2 separate regions of the Homo sapiens genome follow, and region 1 is linked to region 2. The links are contacts of gene promoters, found by promoter capture Hi-C in human tissues and cell types (Jung and others, 2019). All regions are on one chromosome and are shown on one strand. Each heading gives the region's core, a stretch centred on a gene start or on the middle of the fragment in contact. The rest is flanking DNA. Distances are from core to core; before and after follow the strand shown.

Evidence for each region. Contacts are between HindIII fragments. The study calls those that stand out against the background at their distance.
Region 1: a fragment that was not itself captured here is called in contact with the fragment with the promoter of PATE3 in region 2 in 2 of the 25 tissues and cell types used here (mesenchymal stem cells and mesendoderm cells).

Annotation. Positions count from the first base shown.
Region 1 is chr11:125,737,185-125,740,553 of GRCh38, forward strand. No RefSeq gene overlaps it. Among named protein-coding and RNA genes, the nearest start is that of PATE1, 7.4 kb to the right of the region's middle. The HindIII fragment of the contact is 3,360 bases long and covers 1-3,048 here.
Region 2 is chr11:125,786,336-125,790,076 of GRCh38, forward strand. PATE3 (prostate and testis expressed 3) reads left to right here and starts at 1,792. Exons shown (of 3, transcript NM_001129883.4): 1 at 1,792-1,865; 2 at 3,051-3,173. The coding sequence starts at 1,817. The HindIII fragment of the contact is 11,927 bases long and covers 1-3,741 here.

The DNA of each region.
Region 1 (3,369 bases), core at 119-2,618, 50 kb before region 2:
ATTAGATAATGGCCTTAGTTATGACCCTGAAAGCATAGCAACAGTAATAACAAAAAATAGATAAAATACACTTCATCAAAATAAAAAACTTTAGTATTATACTTCAAAAGGCACTATCGAGAAAATAGAAAACAAGTCACAGAATGGGAAAAAACATTTAGGTCCAGGAGAGCCTTTTCAAGGACTTCAATAGCAAGCCTGCCCCCACAAATCCTGCTAGAAAGCCTGCCTAGAATCTCTGGAAAGGCTAACTGATAAAGGGCTTTCCCTGTCAAAATCAGTCTGTAAAAACTAGAATAGGTGCTTACTTCTTCAAACGTTCAGATTTCAACATATGGCCAAATGGATTATGAATAATCAAGGAAACATGACACTACCAAAACAAAACAATAAAATAAAATATCAGTAACTGAGCCTAAAGAAAAAGGGATCTACGAACTGCCAAAGAATTCAAACTAATTATCTTAAAGAAACTCAATGAGTGACAACAGGACAAAAATAGATACTAAATAGAATCAGAAAAATAATACATGAACAAAATTAGGAGTTCAACAAAGAGATAGAAACCCCTAAAAAAAAGAACCAAATACATTCTAGAGCTAAAAACAGAATTACAGCATTACAAATTTTCACAGAAAGCTTTAACAGCAGAATCAATCCAGCAGAAGAATCAGTAAGCTTAAAGACAGGTTATTTGATATTACCTAGTCAGAGAAACAAAAAGAAAAAAGAATGAAAAAAAGTTTAGAAATCCTATGGGACTTATGGGATGCCACCAAGTAAACTGATATTATAGGAATTCCAGAGGAATGGAAAAAAAGAAATGAGCAGAAAGCTTATTTAAATAAACAATGACAGAAAATGTCCCAAATTCGAAGAGGAAAATGAACATTCAGATCCATGAAGCCCAAAAAATCAAAGTAATAGTAATCAAAACAGCACATTATTGCCATAAAAACAGACATTTAAATTGATGAAACAGAGTAGAGAGACCAGAAATAAATTCATGCATTTATAGTCAATTGATCTTTGACATAGATGCCAAGAACACAAAACAGGGAAAGGACAGTCTCTTCAATAAATGGTGTTGGGAGAACCAGATATTCACATGCAGAAGCATAAATTGAACCCTTTCTTACACTATATATTTTTTTTAAAACTCAAAATTCAGTAAAGACTTAATCATAAGACCTAAAACTGTAAAATTACCAGAAGAAATCAGAGGAAAAAATCTTCTTGACACTGGTCTGGGCAATTAATTTTGTGTATGATCCTAAAAGTACAGGCAATAAAAATAGACAAATGAGATTGCACCAAATGAAAATGCTTCTTTACTGCTAGGAAACAGCAGAGTAATGAGACAATCTACAAAATGGGAGAAAATATTTATAAAACATTTATACCTGACAAGGAGTTAACATCCAAAGTTTACAAGGAACTCAACTCAATAGCAAGAAAACAAACAACCTAATTAAAAATGAGCAAAAGAGCAGAATTGGTATTTCTCAAAAGAAGATATACGAATAACCAGAAAGTTATGAAAAAATGCTCAGCATCAGTAACCATCAGGGAAACGCCAATCAAAACAACAATGAGATATAACCTCACACTTTTATTAGAATTGCTATTATCAAAAAGACAAAAGGTAAGTTTTGGGGAGGATGTGGAGAAATGGGAACACTTGTGCACTGTTAGTGGGAATATAAATTAGTATGCTCATAATGGAAAACACTATGGAGGTTACTCACAAAATTAAAATAGAACTACCATATGTTCCAGAAATCCCTCTTTTGGGTACATATTCAAAGGAAATGAAATCAGTTTCTCAAAGAGATATCTGCACTTTCATGTTTATTGCAGCATTATTCACAGTAGATGAACTATCAAATCAACATAACTGTCCATTGAAAGGTGAATGGACAAAGAAACCGTGAGGCACATGCACACACACATACACACACAATGGAATACCCTTCAGCCTTAAAAAAAAGAAGAAAATTCTACCATTTGTGACAACATGAATGTATTTGAAGGATGTTATGCTAAATGAAGGAAGCCAGGCACAGAAAAACAAATACCACATGATCTCAATTATATGTGAAATCTTAAAAAGTTGAATTAGTAGAAGTGGAGAGTAGAATGATAGTTACCAGAGGCTGGCATGCTGAGGAGGAAAGGAATGGGGAGTTGTTGATTAAAGGGTACAAAGTTTCAAGTAAATAGGAGGAATAAGTTTTGAGATCTATTGCACAGCAAGGTGACTATATTCAACAATAATATTTTGTACATTTCAAAATAGCTAAGAGAGTAAATCTCAAATGTCTCGCTATAGAAAATAATAAGCAAGGTGATGTTAATTAGCTTGATTTGATCACCCCACATTGTATATATATTTCAAAACATCACACTGAACCCCACAAATGTATACAATTATGATTCATCAATTTAAAATAATATTAATAAAACATTAGTGTGAGGAAGGAGAAGGAAGAGAGAATATTAAAAATTACACTATGTTTTCAACTTCACATAAATAAGGAACAGGTAACTAGAAATAGTTGTGTATAAAATTGCAAACGCTTGTTTCTTGATATTACACTCAAGAATAATAAAACTTTTCTGACATGTACTAAAAAAAAAAAATGTTAAGCAAAAAATAAAAATAAAGACATAACAGTGGACTTAGTAAGTACTGCATAAATGTTATTTATAGTTTTTTAAATTTACGTATGTTTTGTGTACTTCGTATGTATTTGATATTTCTCAATGGAAAGAAGCACAAAATTAAAAGATATATGATAAGTTAGAGGTGTCAGTGGCTGGGACACTGCTACCCTTTGAACATGCCATGTTTTGCCAGTCTAATGAGTGTTTGTTGCTCCACACACTAGTTCTAGAGGCACTATATGAACACTCTAGTACTGAAAGCCATGCTGATTCTTTATGGCCATTTGTTATTGCCCCACAGCGTGATTTTAGTCCCTCTGTGTGAGGATGGAATGCTAATCAAAGCTTCAATAGAACAGAAGTTTGAACTCAAGTGACCTCATTCTTTTTTTCTCAAAACTGAAAATCTTCCCTAAGCTTCCATGATCAAAAAAGGAAAAAAATACTTATCTTTTCTATGGCTTGGAAGTTCTTCTCAGTGAGAATTCAGCACCTACAAGCAACATCATGACACTGCACTAGTGGCTACCAACACCCAACTTATTCTTTCTCTTTTTAAATTGTTTATTTGAGAAACACAAAATGTATGTGGAGAATTTCCTAAAATATATATAAACAATGCAAGGAAAAATTATTAGACTCATGCACAAAACATTTTTGAAACAATTTTACTGACGTAGAGATTACATATATTAAAATGAA
Region 2 (3,741 bases), core at 542-3,041:
TCTTCTCTCCTACCCCATGATAAATGAAGAAAGAAATTATTTTCAAGAGAAAATGTGATGGATGAGGTACTGTGGGAGGCTGAGAAGTAGGTCAGAGGACTCCAACATTTGGGTAGAGTTGCAAAATTCTACAATCTTAACTGGAAATAATCAGTACAATGGAGATTCAAAACACAATTGGCCTTTCAGAAGGCATCTGCCAAGGAGAACCTTGAAGGAAGAAGAAAAAAACTCCACCACAGTTTAACCTAGAATGTCTGCTTCTTTTGCTCTGATTCTAGTGCTGCTCCCTCTCTCTATTTTCTTATGTTTTATATTTATTTTTATAGATTCAGGGAGTGCATACATAGGCTTATTATGTGGACAGATAGTCAAATGGTAAAGTTTGGGCATCTAGTGCACCCATCACCTGAAGAGTGAACATTATACCCAGCAGGTAATTTTTAAATAGAGGATAAAGCAGAGGAAACAAGTGACAAATGAAATACCCTAATAACTTGGTAAGTCCAGGCTGCAAAGGCTCAGAAGTTTGTCTTCTTGATAAGCCTGGGAATGTTCTCAAAAATGCTATCCAGTGTTCAACACCCTCTTCTAAAATATGGCAGAGTAGAAAACTAGATCCAAAGGCCTCACAACCTTACTCTCCATTCTGGAATCTATTATTTCAAAGGAACCAGCTCCCTCATGTGTAAGTGTCTAAGACTTCTTGCTCTCTTCTTAGGCAAAGGTGGGCTCCGTATTCTGTTTGTTCATAGAGAAGAAACATTGTAAATTTTGTGACACTTAACATAAGATCATATTTTACCCAATCTTCATCTGATGTCTAAAAAATGTCAGACTCAATATATTTCAATGATCATATCATTCCTACAACTAAAGAACATGTTGTTAAATCAGTTTAATATGGAATACTTCTAGTATCTCTAACCAAGCACCATCAGCCATTGGGCTGGTGGTTTAGGAGACTTAGAATGCCAGGAGTGGTCATGGTTTTCTAGTACTTTACCCATAGTGAATCTTAACTGAGTTAGCTTTCATAAAGATAGACATCTAAATCATGAACAAAAAACTAGCCAGATTCAAAATATAAATTTGCTAAAGATCAAGTCATGGAATAATTCTAGAGAGGATTTAATGGCTCTACAAAGTAAACAGTCGCTGGCCTTGAAGGACAGATTTCTTGTAAGTAGAAGAGTTCTCGACTGAGAATCAAACGTTCTAGTGGAAGGTCAAGCTTGGTCACAGACTATATATCTTTTCCTCTCTCACTCTCTGGTTTCTTACCCATAATGTGAGGAGCCAGGTGAGCTTGTCTGCCTTATTCATTGCTTGGTCTTACTCATGTAACTGTGTTGTATATACAATTTCTCAACAAATATTTGTTGAATGTATGAATAAATCTCAGAGAGGCATTGAATCACGGTGGTGAAACGTGGACTCTAGAATTAGGAAGTCATACTTTGAGTAACAGCACTATCTCACTGGATATGTGACCTGGGGTAAGCTTCTGGAACCTCAACAAGCCTCAGTTTCCTCCTCTTGAAATTGGGATAAGAATAATAATATCAAAAGTATATGTTTTTAAAAAGGTTAGCTCCATGCAAACCTCAACATTTATTAATTTTCTTTTTTCTCTGCCTTGAGGAGGACAGCCAATGAACTTGAGCTCCAAGAGGAAACCTTGTGTGACAGGCTCTCCCTAGGCATGAATAATCACTAGCCTCTGACGAAGAAGAAAGTTTTCTCTCTGGAGCCTAAAGACCTGTGCTTGCAGCCCCTAGCTTCTTTTTCCTGCACAAGGGATTTCCGGGTCAGGATGAACAAACACTTCTTGTTCCTCTTCCTCCTTTACTGCCTCATTGTGGGTGAGTCCTGGACCTGAGGGGTATACTTGAGAGACAGGATCTAGGGAGCTCCAGGGAAACTACATGTGTAGCATGCATCCATGCAGGGCTGAGCTTTGGCCACTTTTATGAGCCAGGGGAAGCCAGCCTCCAGAATGCTCCTCTGCCTTCCCTGACAACTCTTCCATCCTTTTCAGCCTCCTGCCATTCTCCTCCAGATGGGCAGGCCTCTGTCCTGCCCTTTTAACTCATTTTCTCCCTCTGTCCCTACCATTCCCCATAATCCCAAGCCCTGGCAAGATTTTCCTTAGGACATCCTTTTTATTTGTAAACCTATATCCCATTTGTTGATGGAGCTGGTCAGTCTATAATGAATAATTTTCAGTTTATTTTAGGAGTGAACAATGGCTTTTGATACCCTTTTCAGAGACTTTATATTACAACAAGTAATTCTATGAGAGGAAGTACTGAATGCTCTGGAATCAGACAGATTTTTTTCATGGTTTGTAGTCACGGTCTCAAAATCTCTGTACCTTTGGTTGCTCATTCAAGAAATGGGGACAATGGTGCCTGCTTACAAGGCTTTTGCGAGGATTAAATCGGATGCAACTTGAGAGAACATGGCCCAAATGGGATGCTCAATCATTGCTACTTTCCTTTCTCATTCAGGTGCACTAGGGAAATTTTTTTAAATTAAACCTGTATTTTGAATAGCTCACCCCGCAGAACCTCATAAAAGTGTCACTTATGGTACTATTATTGATGATGCCTTTATGTAGATTCAGATTGAAGCTCAAAAGAACAGAATATATCACCTAACAATAGTAACAATAGCTTTGGTGAAATGTTTTAAAGCCCTCACCCTCCTTATCACACCCATATCTCTAGTAGGCCAGGCTAGCATTCATAGCACCATTTTTAAGCTAGAGAAGTCAATGACATGGAGGCTAACTTTTTGCTTAAAGTTATCCAGGTTAAAAGGGCTGAAGGTGGGGTCAGAATCCTTTGGTGACATTTTCTTTTTATTACTCTGAAATGAGGAGTTGATAAGAGCTCCAACTGTTTACCGCCTAAATACCCCAACCAGTAGCTCTTCATCTGCCTGCCCCCTCCACTATTCATTCCCCACCTCCATCTGAATATTTCTAACTCCATCCCAAGTCCCTGCTTTTGCCTAGTCTCACACCATCTCTATGCTCTCTCCAGCAGTGACATCACTTCAGTGCATAACATGCCACCTTCGCACACGGACAGACCGCTGTAGAAGAGGCTTTGGTGTCTGTACTGCTCAGAAGGGCGAGGCATGCATGCTCTTAAGGATTTACCAGCGTAAGTTAGAGGGTCAGGGAAGGTGTTGTAAGATTCTTAGAATTCTTAGGATAGTGCTTCAGCAATTTCACATCTCAAGAGAAGAACCAATGCAGAATGCCCCTGAGCACAGGTGGTAGCACAGGTCCCTGTGCATACAGACAGAAGATAATTTGGGTCAATGAGACAGGAGGGAGAACTTGGGGATTCTATATTTCCAAGAAAACTGACCAAACAGATTTTTTTTTGATAATCGACACATAACAATTGTTCATATTTATGAGTATATGTGATTTTTCATACAAGCCTTCAATGTGTAATGATCAAATCAGGGTAACTGGATATTCATCACCTCAAACATTTATCATTTCTTTGTATTGAGAACATTCTATATGTTCTCTTCTAGCTATTTTGAAATATACAATAAAGAAAATATGGTATATACACACAATAGAATATTATTCAACCATAAAAATAAATGAAATTCTGTCCTTTGCAGAAACAGAGGTGAGCCTGGAGGTCATTATATTAAATGAAATAAGCCAGGCCCAGAAAGACAAATATCCCATGTTCTTAATCATGTATAGGA